2 separate regions of the Homo sapiens genome follow, and region 1 is linked to region 2. Evidence: promoter capture Hi-C in 16 types of primary human blood cells and fetal thymus (Javierre and others, 2016). All regions are on one chromosome and are shown on one strand. The core of a region is centred on a gene start or on the middle of the fragment in contact, and the rest is flanking DNA. Distances in the headings are between cores, read along the strand shown.

Region 1 (5,936 bases), core at 2,496-4,995, 270 kb before region 2:
TCTCAAGTTCCTCCAAAACCCACACCTCTGTTCAACTTTGGGACTTCCAGAGCTCACCTGAACCAACCAATCTGAGATCATCTGCCTTGACCAATCATGGCTTAGCTGCCTCAACCAATCAGGCTCAGTTGCCTTGACCAATCAGGGCTCAGTTCTATCAACCAGTCAGAACTAGGTGAGTTTGAATACTTCATTTGCATAAACTTTTGCTGTAAAAGTATAACCCTAGCTTTGCTCTCTGGAGCACACCTTCATTTTACACCTAAGGCTGTGTGTCTCTGGTGTCCAAACTGTTCTCTGGAATAAAGTCTCTTTCCTTGGGGCTGGGAGCAGTGGCTCATGCCTGTAATCCCAGCTCTTTGGGAGGCTGAGGTGGGCCAGGAATTCGAGACAGCCTGGGCAACATGGCAAAACCACGTCTCTACAAAAAATTTTTTTTAAATTAGCACTGAGCATGGTGCAGTCGCCTGTAGTCCCAGCTACTCTGGAGGCTGAGGTGAGAGGATCACTTGAGCCCAGGAGGTCAAGGCTGTAGTGAACCGAGACGGTGCCACTGCACTATAGCCTGGGCAACAGAGTGAGACCCTGTTTCAAAAAAAAAAAAAAAAAAGGTCTCTTTCCTCTAAATTCCTTTTTATTTTTAATAATTTTGTTTGTTTTATTTTTTATTCAAGACAGGGTCTCGCTCTGTTGCCCAGGACGGAGTGTAATGGTGCAATCACAGCTCACTGCACCCGCAGCCTCTGGGGCTACAGCTATACTCCCACCTCAGCCTCCAGAGTAGTTGGGACTACAGGCACTAGGTACCATGCTGGAGTACTTTTTTTTTTTTTTTTTTTTTTTTTTTTTTGTAGAGGCGGTGTCTCGCTTTGTGGCCCCTTTTCAGAGAACTTTTGTTCACTATACTGAGCTACAATGATAGTGGTTCTGCTCCCTGACAAATACCGGGATTCAGCTAATCTCTGCAGCTTTGCCAGTCAGCTGAGCTAGGATAGGATTAACATGCTCATGTGTAAACTGATGTGACCAACAAGGCCACATGCTCCAGCATGGAACTGAAGGATAATAGTTGCTTCTGCCTCATAAGACTGATGTGAGGATAAAATGAGATGTGTAAAGTACTTTGCAGATACAGTGCTTGATAAAGTGCAGCTATTATTGTTGGAGGCAAGGCTGCTTACAGTCCGGGCCAAGTTTATCTTCAGGCAATTATTATTATTATTATTTCTGAGACAGGGTCTCCCTCTGTTGCCCAGACTGGAGTGCAGTGGCACAATCTCGGCACACTGCAACCTCTGCCTCCCAGGCTCAAGCATTCTTGTTCCTCAGCCTCCTGAGTAGCTGGAATTATAGGCTTGAACCACCACGCCTGGCTAATTTTTGTATTTTTAGTTTTGCAATGTTGGCCAGACTGGTCTTGAACTCCTGACCTCAAGCTCAAGTGATATGCCCTCTTTGGCCTCCCAAAGTGCTGGGATTACAGGCATGAGCCACCATGCCCTGCCCAGACAATTATTTTGAATCTTCTTTAACACCAAGACAAATAGGGCATAAAGCATGACTTAAAATTTTTTAACCTGGAAATATTTTAAAGTAGTTGTAACCCGCTAAGCTATTAAAGACAAACAAACAACAACACATGTGCAGAAATTCCATAAGCACCCATATATTACCTGGCTTTGAGAAATGTAATTTACTTTTGTCCTTTCAGATAAGCCAGCTGCAGAATATATCCTGAGGTACCTGCTTTATGGAATTATTCACACTATTCACCAACAGGAAGGTAGGAACATCTACTGAAAATGACAAATTTTTTTTTTAGGAAAGCTGATATGTATACTTTCTTCCTAGCAGTAATTAGCTGAGCCATTTGTTTGCTAAGACCACTCTGAGCTTGTGATAATATCATCTGCGTATAGGATAATTTGTGTGTTTCTGTTCACTTGTGATAATATCATCTGCATATAGGATAATTTTTATGTTTCTCTTCACTTTTTTTTGGATAATGTGGGCTGATTTAATATTTTAAGTCAAATGAGATTTCACCAAATTTCTATCTGGTACATGTTGGGGACATGGAAGGAAGCTTTGATTGCAAGAGCCACATTTCCCTGTTGTTTTTTAAAGTTGGTCTACATGTGAATTCATCATCAACTAGAATTAAAACCATCTATACACTTTCAGATATCAGTTGGCTTGTTTGGTTTTAATATTGTAACCCTCAGAATCAGCTTTGTATTTTGCCCCTTTGATGCTTGAAAGATAGGGTTTCACATAATATATAGAAGATCCATGAAGCTAGTTCCTTTGGAACCTAGAGCTGGGTGACTTTCCACATTGGGGGGCAAAACAGTCCAAGCCTATTTAATGTTTTTCAATCTTAAATACCATTGCATTTATCTAAATACAGACTTACATGTCTATATCTTTTTTTTTTTTAACATGACTCTTTGTTTCTCATGGGACTGTGCAAGTTTCTCCCTGATTCTATCTTTTCCACTGTTTCTGTGGAAGGATGTTAGCCTCATTCTTCACCATGCTCCCTGTCTCCCTGCCTACCCCTTTCTGTCTTTAGTTGAGCTCCATGAGGGCTGAGACTGTATCTCTTTTATTAACTGCTATACCACAAACACTTTGCATAATACTTGGCACAGATAATTTATCAAATAAATATTTTTTGAGAGTTTGAGTAAAATGTTAAGACTGGATTTCTTTGGACTGATCCATAATCAGTAAAACACTCATTACCTTATCTGATATTTTCCTTTAGAATAAAGTCAATCAATTCAAGGAGTCTCAGAACAGGAGCACATAGACACCAAACTTTGTGGGACAACAAATATAATGAAGAGTATGTTTGCGTCTTTCAAACAAGTGAGTGAACGAGGAAAATCTTTCCCAATATATAAATATTGACTTGAAGTCCTTACCTGCTTATTGATGTAGGAATGGCCAAGTATTGATTTCGTAAATATAATAATGAGTATTTCTTTTATTTGTTACTTAATATTCATGAAGTTAACTGTTAATGTCAAAATAGCCACACTACCTGTGTTCACAGTTAAGGAAATCCAAACAGAGAAGGACTTGGTATCTTTTTTGTTGTTGTTGTATAAATTTAGGGGATACAAGTGCAGTTTTGATATGTTATATCTTACATTACCCTTCCTTGGCTTCTCAGACTTAGCCTGGATAGAGACAAAAGGCCAGACTGAATAGCTTGTGTTTATATCAATCTTGATTCATGTGCCCTCTGACTCCCCAAATGATTGAGTGGGTGGAAGCACGCACATGCATTGAGCCAGTGTGTGCATAAATGCTGTCACATGTAAGGCAAGAAGCAGGGTGACACAGAAAGAGCAAGTCACAAGTTGTCAGGACTCTAAATTGAAGTTTTGTTTGTATCCATGCCCTAAAAACCCAGAGCCACGTGAAGTCAAGGCCCTTAACACCCACCCCTCCCACATACTGAGGGGAGAATTCAGATGCCCACTGGAGTCAGCCGATCAGACTGCCTTTTGCACACTCCTTGCCTCCACTCCAGTTTACCGTGGAAGACCTGTCTGCTATGGCTGAATCTGAGAGAGATCCTTGAGTGTAAGATCTGGTCTTGATCACCTTTCTACCCACACTGCCCCCAAACTTGAACTTCCTGGGGTTTAACACAATACTTAGTAGTTTCTCAATGAATGTTCACAGAACGAATTAAGGAATGAACAAATGTTGCTCTGGACAAAGCTGCAGCTTCCACGTCCTGCATAACTGCACTCAGTACTGACCCTGAAGATAGGAAAAGCAATACAACTGGTGCTGTAAGAAAATGTTTCTTGTTTATACTGCTGCATCTTGATCTTCGGCTGATCTCAGCACAAAGAGAGCTCTTTCAGTTAGAAAAAAGGAGGTTTATGGTGTGTGGGAGAGCTAAGAACAATGGGTTCAATTGATAGACTGGAGATGCTCTCAGCTTCTGAGAGCCTAGAAACTCCATCTATAGATTCATCCCAGAGGCAGAGCCAAATAAGGGCAGATGGAAAACATAGCTTTCTTGGGAACTGGCTTTCGGTTCCTCTGAGGCAAAAATACAATCACTCTGTAGAACCCTGAATCAATTCTCCAAAATATGGTGCTGTGTCCTTGTTTGCAGTGTCTTAAAATAAGTCCCTGTCATATTTTTATTCTTTATGTCTTAAAGTCGTTCAACCAGACTCGCTTGCAGAATATTAATTGTGGTTAAGCAGAAATCAGGAAATTAAATTGAAACTGCTTTTGAATGGAGCTCCTTAACTGATGACTGACTTGTCATCCCTCCAGCTAAAGATTCCTTTCTCTCCAGTCATTTGCCAGCTGCAACTATGGGGCAATGAAATGATTTTAAGACAGCTTTCTTTAAGCTGGTCATCAGAGTGCTGTCCAAGGGTGCCAAATTCTAACCTAGGGTTGTGAAAGGGCTTTAATGCTATGTCCCCGGTGGGCTAGTAGGCTGGCCATCCAGGGTGGTAGGTGTCACTAATTTATTTTAGTACTGCCCTGCCACAGCCTGTTTACATTTACGTTGCCCTTTCCATACCTGCTCTGTCCTTTAAGTACTAAACCTTCCATCCAGTACTATCCAAATAAAACTAAATATTAGTCACGTATGAATTACTAAGGGATCATTACTGGAATATCCAAACAATTTAAAGAGAAGGTAACAATAACTTAAATCTAAATGCACCGGGGACTGGGGCACCACTAAGGTATTGAAAAAGTAACCATAGTTGACTCTGAACATTCTGAAACCCAACTTCGAAGAGAAAAGAAACCTTTAAGTAGGCAATAAATTGGTTTCAATATCTGCGTTTTAACACAAGCTCAGACATGTACTTACTGGATTTCTTTGGGCAAATTACTTTGCTTCTATTTCTTAGTGTCTTCAACTATAAAAGTAGAAGTAATCTATTCATATACTATTTATTTCAGAGAAATGTTATGAGAATGACTTGGATGAGCTGAAAAATGAATGATCTCCTTGAACAAGGTACGATTATTAAGTTTCTATTGTGAAGTCAAATAGAACAATTCACTCAAAGGACACGATGTTTGATTGAGAACATTCTTAATTTTATTTTCTTTAATTTTATAAAATACACTTTGTAAGATAAGTTTCTAAAAGTTTATCCTTTATGTGTGTTAAAATTGCAATTCTATATCAGAAATGAAGGAAACACTTTCAGTTGATTAACTCTCTTTGTGTGTGTATATATGTGTATGTATGCATGTGAGGTTTTCAGGGAAGGGTTGGTTATTTGTTATGTTATTAAATCAAAACAAAACACAAGGTACGGATTACTTCACTGTCCTTTATCTTGATTGGTTTCTTACAAAACATTTTCCCTCTCCTCCTTCTATGCAGCCTGGAAGCTTATCTTGTATACTGGTTTGAAAACAAGTATCAAGTGTCTTTTTGTAAAGCTCTTACATCTCCTTAAATATTGCTGAAACCACTTTGGGGGAAAAGAACAACACAACTCTTTACAACAAAAGAACTGTAGTACAAATCTTTCCTTCAATTAAAACCAATCAGACTTTTTTTTTTTTTAACCCAAAGTTAACAAAAACAGGAAAAGACTGAAATCTGGGAGCTATTCAGGTCTCAAACTCTTTCTGCCTGTCCTTTTTCCTGGAAGCTTACCAACTGAATAGCTGATGACTGGTGCATTCTGTTATGTGATCTATATCAGGAGAAAATAACCTTTATGTTAAACCTAACTCTTAACACACCAAGATAACATTGCTAAGTAAAATCATTTTCCATTAGCTAGAAAGAACGATCAGATTACTCAAATTGAGATTCAAATTCACCAAATCTGTTTCTGCAAAGGCAGAATACTTGTAGAAAATCCCAATAGATTCAACTAGCCAATTTTTAATATCATTTGTGATGCTTAATGTCCAAT
Region 2 (5,151 bases), core at 175-2,674:
GCTCAGCTAAACTTAAAAACATTTTTCAGAGACAGAGTTTTGCTATGTTGTTTAGACTTCTCTCACACTCCTAACCTCAAGCAATCCTCCTACCTCAGCCATCTGAGTAGCTGGGATTATAGCCACGAGCCACCATGCCTGGCGAGATTTACTTCTTTACCCACCAGTAAATCAACCTCAATAAATTCTTGGAATTTGGAGTGGTGAGAGGGTGAGCAAGCATATATGTATGTGAGTATGTATACATTTGTATGTCACTGAAGCTGTCAGGAATTTTTATTGTAAGGACTACTTGAGGTTAATTACTGTGCATCATGTCAATCCTATTTAGTTCCTAGTACATATTAGGAACAAGCTCGGGATAGTGGTGTTTGTTTTTTCTCAGCTTTCCTTGGCCAGAATGGTTACCATGGTGACTCAGTGACTGCGGTGTGATTTGGTGCAGACTGAGCATCCATTTAGGATTCTTGCCCGAATCTCTCACACCACATTGCCTGTCCATCAGATATAGTATTAGCTTTTCATCTTATGTGTAATTAATCACTTTTCAAGGGCTCAGAAGAAAGTTGCTTCACTTATCTGAGGTTAAGCTACAGATAACATAAAAAGACACTAAGTACCTTGAAATAAAAGGAAATGAGTTGTTGATATTCCTCTCCTGCCCCAATCTCTATTGGGAGGTTAGAAGAGAAATTCTTGGAATCATACAGCATGTGCTCTTTTGTGTCTTGCTTCTTTCAGTCAACATAATGTATGTGAAATTAATATTTATTGTGGTCTATATTGTAGATTGCTTATTCTCATTGGTGTAAAGTATTATATTATTTGGATATTTCACACTATATTTATCTGTGATGGAGATTTGTGTATTTTCCAGTTTTTGACATCTCATGAATAATGGTGTTATGAATGTTCATGTTCATTCTTTTGGATGAACATATATTTTCTTTTTTAAAAAAATCTTATTATCAATAATATTTGAACTATTTAATATCTGTCATCTTAAAATTATTATTCATAACACTTTTTACCTTGTAGCTATAGACAAATACATTCCCATTTTAGCAGGTTAATGAAATTATCTTTATAATACTATAGAAGCATTTATTTGAAGAATACCAGAAGGAACATCCTGAAAACCAAGAACTCAAAATGCCTTTTTATCCCAAAGACATGTTTTACAAATATATACCCATTCATCCATTTGTTTTCACAAATGAAGCTACAGAGAACTTTGAATATAATGATGTGCAGCAGGGGCTTATTCCTAACATATTTAAAATTTAGGTCAACCAAACTTCTCTGTGGAAACTGAGTTGAAATCCGAAATCTTACAATCCTAATTTCGAGCCACATTCATTTTAACTTAATTTTAACATGTTTTGCAAAATGTTCCAATATAAACTTAATAGTTCCTATACCACCAAACATGGATCCTCATGATTTTATTTTCTAGATTGGCTGATAGGCTGAATAATCTCCTGTAGGGTAAGAAGTGTCAACTGTATCAAGCACATGGAGGTGGACTGGCTACAGGAGAAAGGTTTTCCAAATCAAATTCCAAGTATTTCTTTCTCTTTTTATATTACCATTAGGAGAAATAACTAATGTAGATGACGGGTTGATGGGTGCAGCAAACCACCATGGCACGTGTATACCTATGTAACAAACCTGTACATTCTCCACATGTATCCCAGAACTTAAAAGTATAATAAAAAAATTTAACAAAATGGTGTTAGATTCAGAGGCTTGATTCAATTTAGATTTGTTTTGGTCAGAAGTACTTCATATGTGGTATTGTTTATTCCTATAGTGTTACACAGGGGGCTCATTGTGTCTAATTGTCTCTCCTCTTGTGATGTTAAGATTAATTACTATGTTCAAGTATTGTTAAGCTGATCCATCCATTATAAAATTTCCCATCCCTTTTTCACCTCGATTTTTCTGCAGCGTCTAAGGATTGTTGCTTAGTTCTATATTCATTAAAGGTCATAAAAGGATGATATTCTAATTCTATAATTTTCTCTGCTTTATTAGCTGGAATTATTCTATTAAATAAACTTTCATAAACCATTAGGTTACACTGAGGGATAGTATGTATAGAAAGGGTTGGATGAGTGCCTAATTCTTTTGCAATATTTCCACTTTTCAAAACAATGAGTTGTTTCCCTAGGGTTCTCCAAAGGCAAGCAATGAGTTGATATTGTTTGTTTTATTTTATTTTTCTTTTAGAGTGTCATCATGAGCTGTAGAAGTTTTTATATTATAATGTGTTTTAATCCATAGTAGTCATTATTTTATTTAATGTTCAAATTGCTTCATCTTTGTCCAGCGAGAGCCCCTTAAGCTTGGCTTCTGAGTCTTTTTGACGCACTCTCTGGCATGATAGTTTGGTCCAGATTCATCTAGTAGAATGGCTACACAGACCTAAACTCAGTCATTTCTCTAAGATAACCTAGTTCCTTTCAGTGTGATGTGTTTTAAGTGGATTCAATATGGGCACTAGAGTTGCTCATTGCTACTGGGTCTATCATGTTTCTTCACCTTTCTAGTGCATGGAGCCAGTGTATATATATTATATTTTTAAGGGAAAAGACATTATTGGCTTCTGTCCTGGGCTGTTTTTCCTTCTCTTTATAGGTAATGATTTTTTAAATCAATTTTCATTAAAACTTTCCAATTTTAAAAATATAAGCAAATAGAATGTTTCTATTAGTTTTCTCCTATTCCATATATATAAGGTGACATATTCTACACTGGTGGAGTCCAATAGAATTTCTACAAAGGTGAAAATATTCTATGTCTCAACTGTCCAACATAGTAGCCACTAGCTACCTGTGACTATTAAACACCTAAAATGTGGTGAGTGTGACTGAGGAAGTGAATTTAAAATTCCATTTAAATTTAGTTAACTTAAATAGCCATGAGTGGCCAGTGGGTATGGTATGGGACAACAGCAGCTCTACACATTTTTCTGCACTTTGCTTTATTCACTTAATGGTATATCCTGGAAATCACTACATAGCAGCAGAGAGAGGGAATCTTCCTTGCTTGTTATACCGGCATTGAAATCTAGGATGTAGATGCACCTTAGATTATTCAGTCAGTCCTTTATTGGTGGACATCTGTCTTATTTCCAGTCTTCTGCTGTTACAATTTGTTCTGCCAAGAATGACCTTGTGCTTCTGCCTTTTTATCTTTTTGAATTGTATCTTTGGGATACATTCTCCGAAGATTGTTGGTTCCAAGATAAAATAATTGTGCCCTATGAAATAGAAGATTTGAAACAGAGAGCATTTAGAAATATAGTAGCAATAAATGAATGTTGGTTTTATCTTATCATTCCTTTGATTCCATGTACTCTCTGCTCTCTTATTTTCTTTCTAGTGTGACGTGGGTGAAGGAGTTCTTATTGAGCCATGGGAGGAAGAAATAGTACAGAAGAGCAAAGAATAATAATGAGTCAGCTAGACAGAAGACAGGAGTCATCAGATTTGTACCCTAGTTACTCGACCCATCAACTGACTGTGGTTTTTGGGGTGAGTCTCTTCCCTCTGTTGGCCTCTGGTCTAACACAGAAGGATACTCAGTATAGAAATAGTGGTTAGGGGAGGGGGCTTTTGGGTGAGAAGGACTTGGATTTGACCCTGATAACCATTACTTGCTGGTTGCATGATCTGTATCAACCAATTTATCTACCGTGTGCCCTGTAACTATTTATGTCTTTTATTATTATTCCTATCATGCATACAAAGACTGAATGATAAAAGTGGGGATTACTTTGCCAGGTATTAAAGTGTTCTTTGAGCGTATAATTTCATAAGTTTTGGACAGAGTGGTTGACATGCAGGTTAAAGAAGTCTAAAGAAAGCTCTTGAGTAGACCCTGGCATATAACGTCATTTAAGATGCTGCAAGTATGGCATTTCTACTCAAATGCATTGTTAAGGAATTGGGTCTGGGCCAGCTGTAAAGGGTTCATTAAAAAGCAAAGTTAGATTATATCTTATACCTTGTCATGTACTTAGAATGTTTCATCCACATGTTAGTACTTAAGACAAAAGCAAAACTGAAAATAACAACAAAAAACCCAGGATGCTATACTGTACATATAATTATAACAGCTTTATGAATTGTATTTGTAATGCATGTACAGTACATGTGCATATATCCATGTATAAAAAATCCTTAGAAAGATCTAGTACCATGTTAATTTTAATTATGATGGGATTGCTGGCTATTGATATTTTTAACCTCTGCATTTGGCTCAATATTAAACATTTGCTAAGGTGAGAGTATGGATTGTACATACTCCATACCCCATGCTTGACTTACTATGGGAGTTACATCCTGATAAACTCATTGTAAGTTGAAAATAATTGTAGGTCAAAAATGGGCATTTGTAGACAAGATGAGATGTGAAAATACAATATCAAAAAAATCCTGGCAACACTGTACACTATAGGGTCTCAGTAGTTTATCCTCGTGATTGCATGGCTGACTGGGAGCTGTGGCTCACTGCTGCTCCCTAACCAGCATCACAAGAGTATAATACTGCGTTTTGCTAGCCCAGGAAAATATCAAAATTTAAAACTTGAAGTACAGTTTCTACTGAATGTGTACCACTTTCACACTATCATAAAATTGAAAAATTATAAGTCAAAACATCAACAGTCAGGGAATGTCTGTATTTATGATAAAAACTATATCCCCTAAAACCTCTGCTACTTGTGAAATGTTTCAGATAAAAAACAGAGAGAACTATGAAATTAGTCCAGCTTAGGAAAACCTTTACTCCTCCCTAATTGTATCTCCTTCCGTCTCTGCTATAGATAATCAGCACCCAGAAAGCAATGATTATAATTCCCATATGTTGCTTTATCCTTTTATTCCATATGAGAGCTTCCCTAAATAAAACATAGTATTGTTTTGCATGTTTCACCACAAACACACATACACCTGATCCTTACACTCAAGAGAGCATTATGACATGTTCAAGGGGAGATCTTTGTCAAGATGCTGGCACGGTATTTGGTGTGTCATTCACAGTGCCAGTGTTTGCTTCCTTCCCATCTCACCTCTTCTGATCTTTAACAGGGATGTTGTTTCATAATCTGGATAGCATCACTATATTTTAGTGAGTATTTGGGAA

What was found. Contacts are between HindIII fragments. The CHiCAGO score rates a contact against its expected background, and 5 or more counts as called.
Region 1: a contact is called between a fragment that was not itself captured here and the fragment with the promoter of RAB40A in region 2, in 1 of 17 cell types (activated CD4 T cells). The highest score is 5.0, in activated CD4 T cells.

Annotation. Positions count from the first base shown.
Region 1 is chrX:103,791,762-103,797,697 of GRCh38, reverse strand. It overlaps PLP1 (proteolipid protein 1), which reads right to left. Exons shown (of 7, transcript NM_000533.5): 7 at 5,079-5,936. It also overlaps a transcript of RAB9B not described here. Among named protein-coding and RNA genes, the nearest start is that of PLP1, 18 kb to the right of the region's middle. The HindIII fragment of the contact is 3,314 bases long and covers 2,089-5,402 here.
Region 2 is chrX:103,515,762-103,520,912 of GRCh38, reverse strand. RAB40A (RAB40A, member RAS oncogene family) reads left to right here and starts at 1,424. Exons shown (of 3, transcript NM_080879.3): 1 at 1,424-1,543; 2 at 3,388-3,539. LL0XNC01-250H12.3 (a long non-coding RNA gene) reads right to left here. Exons shown (of 6, transcript NR_188440.1): 6 at 2,970-3,265. The HindIII fragment of the contact is 4,467 bases long and covers 1-2,349 here.